Linked DNA regions of Homo sapiens: region 2 is linked to region 1. Evidence: promoter capture Hi-C in human tissues and cell types (Jung and others, 2019). All regions are on one chromosome and are shown on one strand. The core of a region is centred on a gene start or on the middle of the fragment in contact, and the rest is flanking DNA. Distances in the headings are between cores, read along the strand shown.

Evidence for each region. Contacts are between HindIII fragments. The study calls those that stand out against the background at their distance.
Region 2: a contact is called between a fragment that was not itself captured here and the fragment with the promoter of ATXN2 in region 1, in 1 of the 25 tissues and cell types used here (dorsolateral prefrontal cortex).

What each region holds. Positions count from the first base shown.
Region 1 is chr12:111,596,728-111,601,289 of GRCh38, reverse strand. It overlaps ATXN2 (ataxin 2), which reads left to right and starts at 1,975. Exons shown (of 25, transcript NM_001372574.1): 1 at 1,975-2,506. The coding sequence starts at 2,256. ATXN2-AS (ATXN2 antisense RNA) reads right to left here and starts at 1,792. Exons shown (of 2, transcript NR_146497.1): 1 at 1,737-1,792; 2 at 1,035-1,462. RefSeq lists an enhancer at 1,241-1,470 and silencers at 1,931-2,240, 2,301-2,470, 2,561-2,610, 3,201-3,330. The HindIII fragment of the contact is 12,348 bases long and covers 1-4,562 here.
Region 2 is chr12:110,289,709-110,294,270 of GRCh38, reverse strand. It overlaps ATP2A2 (ATPase sarcoplasmic/endoplasmic reticulum Ca2+ transporting 2), which reads right to left. Exons shown (of 20, transcript NM_170665.4): 4 at 2,147-2,251. Among named protein-coding and RNA genes, the nearest start is that of ATP2A2, 11 kb to the right of the region's middle. The HindIII fragment of the contact is 6,416 bases long and covers 1-4,562 here.

The DNA.
Region 1 (4,562 bases), core at 726-3,225:
TGGGATTACAGGTGTGAGCCACCGCGCCAGGCCAAGTGTTTGTATTTCTATTAAAGAAAGAATATAACGGGACACCATTGACGACCTGCTCCATTGCAGGCCTCCTTGCTGTTCCTCAGACTCCCCCCTCAGAGCCTTTGCCCTCGCTGTGCCCTCCACCTGGAGCGTTTCTCCCCAGGATCCTCATGCCCATGCTCATTTGGGTCCCTGCCCCATGTCACCCTCTCCAGGAGCTTCCCCTCACAGCAGCCCTGGCCTGTACCACAGCCGGGTACAGGTATTTTTTTGTTTCAACTGGTTTTTTAGTTCCAGTTTCCTTTAGGTTACTTTATTTATTTATTTATTTATTTATTTTTTGAGACGGAGTCTCGCTCTGTCGCCCAGGCTGGAGTGCATGATCTCGGCTGACTGCAACCTCCACCTCCCGGATTCAAGCAATTCTCCTGTATCAGCCTCCCGAGTAGCTGGGATTACAGGCGCCCACCACCACACCCGGCTAATTTTTATATTTTTGGTAGAGACGGGGTTTCACCATGTTGGCTAGGCTAGGTTAATTTTTAAAGGGTTTTGCAATGGTCCCTTGATCTACTTTTTACCTTAGATGGGAAATAAAACTGATTTCCTACATTGGCAGAATACAATGATCATTTTTGCCTGGACTATCTAGGAGGTTAATTTCAGTTGGACTACTGAAAACTGCTGGTTCAATCATTCTCCACGTTTATCTAAGTCTTTACCTTTATCTGGACAGTTCTAGGACATTGAGGGGAATTTTGGTGTTTCTTCCCCTATTATTTCCTGAAGTCATTTCACTTTAAAAAACAATAGATTCACTGCTCAAAAAAAAAAAAAAAAGTTACCTACTTTCTACTTGCTTCCAGTTTAACTGCAACACATTTTAAAAAGAGTCTACTGTGCTGGCTGGGTAAGTTAAATTAAAACTTCTAAAGGGTCCAAGGTCTAAAGTTCGCACATTGTTTTGAGGTCGGCTCTGTCTCTACCGAGGGAGATCCCATTATCCGTAGTTCTACCAGTCCCAATCCCATATATTTCCTTTAGAATCTCATGAATGAGGAAAAAGAAGTTCAAGTGAGGGAACATAGGTTCAAATGAAGGTCAGATACCTAAAAGAGTTTTCTGGTGACTGTGCGCGGCTGGGGTGGAAAAAGTGGGGAAAAGGTACCCAGATGTGGGTGGCCCCGGAGGGTTGCTCCACTCCAGCCCCGGCAGGGCAGGACAGCGCGGCCTGCCTGGTAGATGCCCCGAGCCACTGGAGCGCCTACTGTGTGGCGGGCGGGGGACGGCAGGAAAACGGCAGGATGCTGTGTCCCCTGAATCTGGCAGGGTTCTAGGTGCTTTACACGTAGCAAGACACATTCTCCGCCCCAAGGCACTCGCAGTCAGTCCATTTTCTGGGTTGCATCAGGTGGGGGCAAACTAGGTCCCCGCAGAAGTGAAGATGCTGAAGGAATACAGTAGGAGAAGAAATGCTTCTCTCCTGTCCTCCACACCAGGCAGGCCCCAGAGGCTGAGACCGACACGCCCTCCCCGAAGGGCAGACCCGCCTTGAGGAAGGCGGATCCGGGTAGGGACCGCCGCCTGGCCCTCACCCGACCCCCGAGAAAGCAACCCAGCGCGCCGCCCGCTCCTCACGTGTCCCTCCCGGCCCCGGGGCCACCTCACGTTCTGCTTCCGTCTGACCCCTCCGACTTCCGGTAAAGAGTCCCTATCCGCACCTCCGCTCCCACCCGGCGCCTCGGCGCGCCCGCCCTCCGATGCGCTCAGCGGCCGCAGCTCCTCGGAGTCCCGCGGTGGCCACCGAGTCTCGCCGCTTCGCCGCAGCCAGGTGGCCCGGGTGGCGCTCGCTCCAGCGGCCGGCGCGGCGGAGCGGGCGGGGCGGCGGTGGCGCGGCCCCGGGACCGTATCCCTCCGCCGCCCCTCCCCCGCCCGGCCCCGGCCCCCCTCCCTCCCGGCAGAGCTCGCCTCCCTCCGCCTCAGACTGTTTTGGTAGCAACGGCAACGGCGGCGGCGCGTTTCGGCCCGGCTCCCGGCGGCTCCTTGGTCTCGGCGGGCCTCCCCGCCCCTTCGTCGTCCTCCTTCTCCCCCTCGCCAGCCCGGGCGCCCCTCCGGCCGCGCCAACCCGCGCCTCCCCGCTCGGCGCCCGCGCGTCCCCGCCGCGTTCCGGCGTCTCCTTGGCGCGCCCGGCTCCCGGCTGTCCCCGCCCGGCGTGCGAGCCGGTGTATGGGCCCCTCACCATGTCGCTGAAGCCCCAGCAGCAGCAGCAGCAGCAGCAGCAGCAGCAGCAGCAGCAACAGCAGCAGCAGCAGCAGCAGCAGCAGCCGCCGCCCGCGGCTGCCAATGTCCGCAAGCCCGGCGGCAGCGGCCTTCTAGCGTCGCCCGCCGCCGCGCCTTCGCCGTCCTCGTCCTCGGTCTCCTCGTCCTCGGCCACGGCTCCCTCCTCGGTGGTCGCGGCGACCTCCGGCGGCGGGAGGCCCGGCCTGGGCAGGTGGGTGTCGGCACCCCAGCCCCCTCCGCTCCGGGCCCGGCGTCCCCTCCCCCGCGGCCCGCGCCGCCGTCCCCGCCCCGTGACCCGCCGGGCTACCCGGGGTGGGCTGGGGGCCGGCAGCGCGGGGGAGACTCGCTCGGGCCTGAGCCCCGAGGCTCGGCCGGTGGGCGCAGCCGGGGTCCTCTGGGATTGTCAGGCCTGTCCAGCCTCCCGCAGCATCCCCGCCCCCTCCCCCGGCGGTCAAGATGGAGGGAGCGGGCGGCCTCCCCTCCCCACGCGTGTTGGGAGGGGTTCTCGGGTAGCGGCGATGGTCAGCCCCGGCTCCCCCTTCCGCACGATCCTCCGCCCGCAGCGTGGGGATGCTCGGGCAGCTCCTCCACTCCCGGTTTAGGTGTGAACGTTGGAGGGGTCTGGAGGCTGTGGTGGCGTTTTCCGGAACATGTCCCCCTCCATGGGGGACATCTCTGGAGGGGAGAAGTTAGGGCCGCGTCCCCCGTGCCGGTTAAAGGGGTAGGCACCGGGCTCCTCCGGAATCATCAGGGTCTGTCGGGGCTCTCTCCCCGCCCCCTCCGAGTCCTGGGAAAGATCGGAGGACGGGGTGGAGACAAGTGGGCCTTGGCCCCCGCACCCCTCTGCGTTCGTGTCCGAGGCGGCGGCGGGGGCTCCCGAACTCCCCTGAAATCGTGGGGCTCCATGTGGCCTCCGGCAGCGTTCCACCCTCCCCCACCTGGGGAAGGGAAGGGGTGGGGAGTGCCCGGCCCCGTCCCGGCCTTCCTCCTTCCCCCGCCAGACCTCTCCGGCGCGCGGGTGGTGGCCGATCCGCATTGCTGTTCGAGGCCGCAGTGGAGAAGGCGCCTGTGGAACATCGGTGGGTGAGGGCTGGACCCAGGCTGGACCCTGGAGATCCGGGGTGGCGGTGCTGGTGGCAGGGGGCGGGCACCCTGCGCACTTATCCCAACCCCCGCCCCAATTTCGGAAATGCTAGGAGAGAGAGATTGCAGCAGGGGACGTGGTCGGGTTCCTGAAGGCAGAAAGGCGGGTGTTTACTAGCGTCTTTTTCCCTCCTAAGCCGGGGTTGTAGTAGGGGCTGGGGGCTCAGTGTTGTCCCGGCTAACTGGGTTTGACTCGAGGGTGTGTTTGTGCAGGAGGGCCTGTTGGGGGTGGCGGGCGGTTGTCAGTTCGTATTTCACGAACTAAGAAAATGCTTAGTGTTCAAAGGGAGAAGGAAACGTCAATAGACTCCATTCCATTGTGGCCGGTGTCCTTAACTTCGGGAGTGCCGCCAGAGCTTACCAAGGGCACGCAAGTCCATTTCCCTTGTGCCTCAAGTCCATCCGTGTTGTAGGCACTACTGTGCCTTCTTTAGGCCTAGGCCGCCGGCTTGACGGCGGGTGACCGGCGTCCTCCTTAAATAGGCATCTTGGGCTTTGGAAGGTGGAATAAGAGGATTTTTCATTCACCCGAGTTTTCTTTTTGAAAACACATTTTCAGCAACCCATTTCCAAAGAATTTTTATTTACAGCAGAAATTCCCCATCAAGAGGAATCAGCTGGTTTTTAAGGAATTCTGCTGCCTTCAAAGGGGGCGGAAACAGTCGGTTATTTGACTTTACACGCCCCGCCCCCCCTTCCCCTTCTCTGAGTCTGAAGCATCCCAAACACTACTTAGCCAAACTAGTTCAGATGAAGTGATCGTTTCCCCAAGTAGGGTAACTTCAGTTTCCCTTTTTCGTTGGCATCTAGCGAAAAATGAAAAAATTTAAAATACAACTTTTATAGAAAAGGATGTATTCTGTTTTTACTTTCTTAGGTATTAGGAAGAGATTTGGCAGATAATTCAACATGTTCAAATATATAAACATTAAAACTAAGGTTATTAAGTTGCATTGACTACTAGGCTTAAAAATTAGATTATAAGAGAATTTGCTCCTGAGTAGTTTGAGTGATCAAAGATATTTGGAATGTTTTAGTACCACAAGGTCTTTTTTCTGTTCCTTGAGGCTTTACAACAATTTAAGGTTAATTTAGATTTTTCCTTGCTTTAAGTTCTTTTACTT
Region 2 (4,562 bases), core at 1,411-3,910, 1.3 Mb after region 1:
GAGATCGAGACCATCCTGGCTAACACGGTGAAACCCCGTCTCTATTAAAAGTACAAAAAATTAGCTGGGCGTGGTGGTGGGCACCTGTAATCCCAGCTATTCGGGAGGCTGAGACAGGAGAATGGCGTGAGCCCGGGAGGCGGAGCTTGCAGTGAGCCAAGATCATGCCACTGCACTCCAGCCTGGGTGACAGAGTGAGACTCTGTCTCAAAAAAACAAAAAAAACAACAGCCAGGCATGGTGACAGTCACCTATAATCCCAGCTACTCGGGAAGCTGAGGCAGGAGAATTGTTCAAACCCACAAGACGGAGGTTGCAGTGAGCCAAAATCACACCACTGCACTCCAGCCTGGGCAACAGAGCAAGACTCCATCTAAAAAAAAAAAAAAAAAAAAAAAAATATATACACACACACACACACACACACACACACACACACACACATATATATGGCACAATTACAAATCTCTAAGTAGGCCATCTTTCTATGAACCTACCACATAAAGATCGTTAACATTTATTGGTAAAGATTAGAAGTTTACAATTTCAACAGGACTAAGTATGTTTATAAGATGTGTCGGGCGTGGTGGCTCACGCATGTAATCCTAGCACTTTGGGAGGCCAAGGCAGGGGGAATCATCTGAGGTCAGGAGTTTGAGACCAGCCTGACCAACAAAATGAAACCCCATCTCTATTAAAAGTAAGTAAGTTAGCTGGGCATGGTGGCACGTGCCTGTAATCCCAGCTACCCGGGAGGGTGAGACAGGAGAATTGCTTGATCCCGGGAAGTGGAGGTTGCAGTGAGCCAAGACTGCACCATTGCACTCCAGCCTGGGCAACAAGAGTGAAAGTCGGTCAAAACAAACAAACAAACAAACAAACAAAAAAAAAAAAAAAAAAAAAGGCCGGGAGTGGTGGCTCACACCTGTAATCCCAGCACTTTGGGAGGCCGAGGTGGGTGGATCACGAGGTCAGGGGTTTGAGACCAGCCTGATGGTGAAACCCCGTCTCTACTAAAAATACAAAAATTAGCTGGGTGTGGTGTCAGGTGCCTGTAATCCCAGCTACTCAAGGAGGCTGAGGCAGAACTGCTTGAACCTGGGAGGCGGAGGTTGCAGTGAGCCGAGATCGTGCCACTGCACTCCTGCCTGGGCGACAGAGAGTCGGTCTCAAAACAAAAACAAAAAAAAGGTCTACTTCAGTCCTCAAAGGGGTGATTATATCCGTCAAATACCTAAAAGATCAACACTTAACATGAATTTTAAGTCTCAGAGTCTGTAGTAAGCACTGAAGGGGAAACAATTTTTATAGCTAAACCTACCAAAAAAACCCAAGGAGAATAAAAATGACATGTAGCTTTTAAAGTTTGTCACAGGAAGCAACTAGGAGACATAAAGATAATGGTTCTCACATTCTCATTTCCTTAAGCAGCTTCTCTCACCCATTTTAATTCCTTGCTACCGTAAAGAATGAACAATGTTTTTCTGAGACAGTGTTGCTCCTTTGCCCAGACTGGAGTGCAGTGTTACGATCATGGCTCACTACAGTCTTGACCTCCTGGGTTCAAGCAACCCTCCCACCTCAGCCTCCTGAGTAGCTGAGACTACAGGCTGGTGCCACCACACTTGGCGAAGAATGAGCAATCTTAACTGCAAAGTTTATATGCATTAAGGTCAAAAATTTGCAATTAATTAAATTAATAGGCCGGGCATGGTGGCTCACGTCTGTAATCCCAGCACTTTGGGAGGCTGAGGAGGGCGGATCACTTGAGGTCAGGAGCTCAAGACCAGCCTGGCCAACATGGTGAAACCCTGTCTCTTACCAAAAAATACAAAAATGAGCTGGGCGTGGTGGTGCGTGCCTGTAGTCCCAGCTACTTGGGAGGCTGAGGCACGAGAACCACTTGAACCTGGGAGGAAGAGGTTGCAGTGAGCCGAGACAACACCATTGCACTCCAGCCTGGGCAACAGAGTGAGACTGTGTCAGAAAACAATTAATTTATGGAATAAAGGGAAAATACATGTAAACTTCCCGCAAACATATTTTTACTCAACACATCAGGAAAAACAGATAACAGAAAGATTAATACAGCCCTAATCACTTACATAACTTATTGAAATTTTGCAGTACAGGAATTTTTGCTTACCTGCCATACACCCACAATTGCATTGGCTACTAATATGAGTAAAATTACAAAAGGTTCTACAAAGGCTGTAATTGTTTCTTCACCTTCTTCAAACCAAGCCAAAACCTAGAAGAGAAATGGCACGTTAGAATGTGTCTTTTTAGGCTTAATGTCACTTTTTTAAAAAGTGGCTAGCACTGGCCGAGCATGGTGGCTCAGGCCTGTAATCCCAGCACTTTGGGAGGCCAAGGCAGGCGATCACCTGAGGTCAAGAGTTCCAGACCAACCTGCCCAACATGGCGAAACCCCATCTCTACTAAAAATACAAAAAATTAGCTGGACATGGTGGTAGGTGCCTGTAATCCCAGCTACTCAGGAGGCTGAGGCAAGAGAATCACTTGAACCTGGGGAGGCAAAGGTTGCAGTGAGCCGTGAGTGTACTGCATGCCATTGCACTCCAGCCTGGGCAGCAAGAGCGAAAACTCAAAAAAAAAAAAAAAAAAAAGTGGCTAGCACTAAAGGGATTATGATAGACAAAATCTATTTTCTTTCTCTAGAAATAAACGGTAGAAAATGCAATTATATAAACAACTGGCTATGTCTTGTTCATAAGAATTCTTGAAAGTCAAAACTATACTTCAGCTGGGCACAGTGGCTCACACCTGTAATCCCAACACTTTGGGAGGCTGAGGCGGGCAGATCACCTGAGGTCAGGAGTTCCAGACCAGCCTGGCCGACATGGCGAAACCCCGTCTCTACTAAAAATACAAAAAAATTACCTGGGCATGGTGATGTGTGTCAGTAATCCCACCTACTGGGGAGGCTGAGGCAAGAGAATCACTTGTACCTAGGAGGCGGAGGTGGCAGTGAGCCGAGATCGTGCCACTGCACTCCAGCCTGGGCAACAGAGCAAGACTCGGTCTCAAAACAAAAAAAAAAGCCGGGTGCGATGGCTCACGCCTGTAATTCCAGCACTTTGGGAGGCCAAGGCGGGGGGATCACCTGAGGTCTGGAGCTCGAGACCAGCCTGACCAACACGAAGAAACCCTATCTCTACTAAAATTACAAAATTAGCAGTGTGTGGTGGTGCATGCCTGTAATCCCAGCTACTCAGGAGGCTGAGGCAGGAGAATCGCTTGAACCCGGGAGGCAGAGGTTGCGGTGAGCCAAGATCGCACCATTGCACTCCAGCCTGGGCAACAAAAGCAAAACTCAAAAAACAAACAAAAAACTATACTTCATGGCTGGGTGTGGTGGTTCAAGTCTGTAATCCCAGCACTTTGGGAGGCCGAGACAGGTAGATCGCCTGAGGTCAGGAATTCGAGACCACCCTGGCCAACAAGGTGAAACCACCTCTACTAGAAACACAAAAAATTAGCCAGGTGTGGTGGCGCACACCTGCAGTCCTAGCTAGTTGGGAAGCTGAGGCAGGAGAATCGCTTGAACCTGGGAGGCAAAGGTTGCAGTGAGCTGAGATCGCACCACTGCACACCAGCCTGGGCGTTAGAGCAAGACTCAGTCTCAAAAAAACAACTATACTTCTTAAAAATACCTTATCTTTTGATGTAATAATTCCATTTTAGAATCCAAATAAAATCTGGGGAGAGGGAATAAATTCCATTCATTTTATATGTATCTATTTAGAAAAAATAAAACTTCAATTCTTGATTAAAGTAAAAGGTGATCATCTAACAGTCATGTTCATTTAGTTATTATTCATATCAAGTAATATCCATGTGACATAAATCCACAGTATAAACAACTTGATCACTGACTTAAATTTTAGAGCATATATAAACTGTTTAATTCTAGGCCGGGAACAGTGGCTCATGCCTATAATCCCGGCACTTTGGGAGGCCAAGGCAGGAGGATCATTTCATGCCAGGAGCTTGAGACCAGCCTGGGCAACATAGCGAGACCCTCATCTCTATAAAAGAAACAAAAAACCAGTTAATTCCCCGTTTCTTTTCAGTGGTACTACTGAAGGCTGTTTCAGAACCGCAAAGCTGTTGGGAGATCCGAAGTGTATTTTGTAGGTTATCCTCCATATGACATTTATACAGCAACACAGCACTTCAGAGATAACCTAAGTCCAAAAATGTAACTGGTCACAGAACACTGCCCCAAGAAAATGGGGCAGAGGTTTAAACTTTTAGCTCATACAACTATAAACTTGTTAAGATTTAAAAACTACAAAGTAAGAGTCACACTGCACTTCCCAATCCAACAACTATAAACGTGGTAAAAAGAGAGAACTCACCACAATGAATACTAAGAATAATGAATATGGTAAAGAGTGGTCTATGTGGTTAAAAATTTAAAAACCTCTTTTTGTGGAAACTTACCAATCCAGAAACAGTGTTAACCACATCTAATGATTTAATCTTGGAGGTCGAATTTTTTTTAATTAAAAAATTGCTTAAAATGTTTGCATATT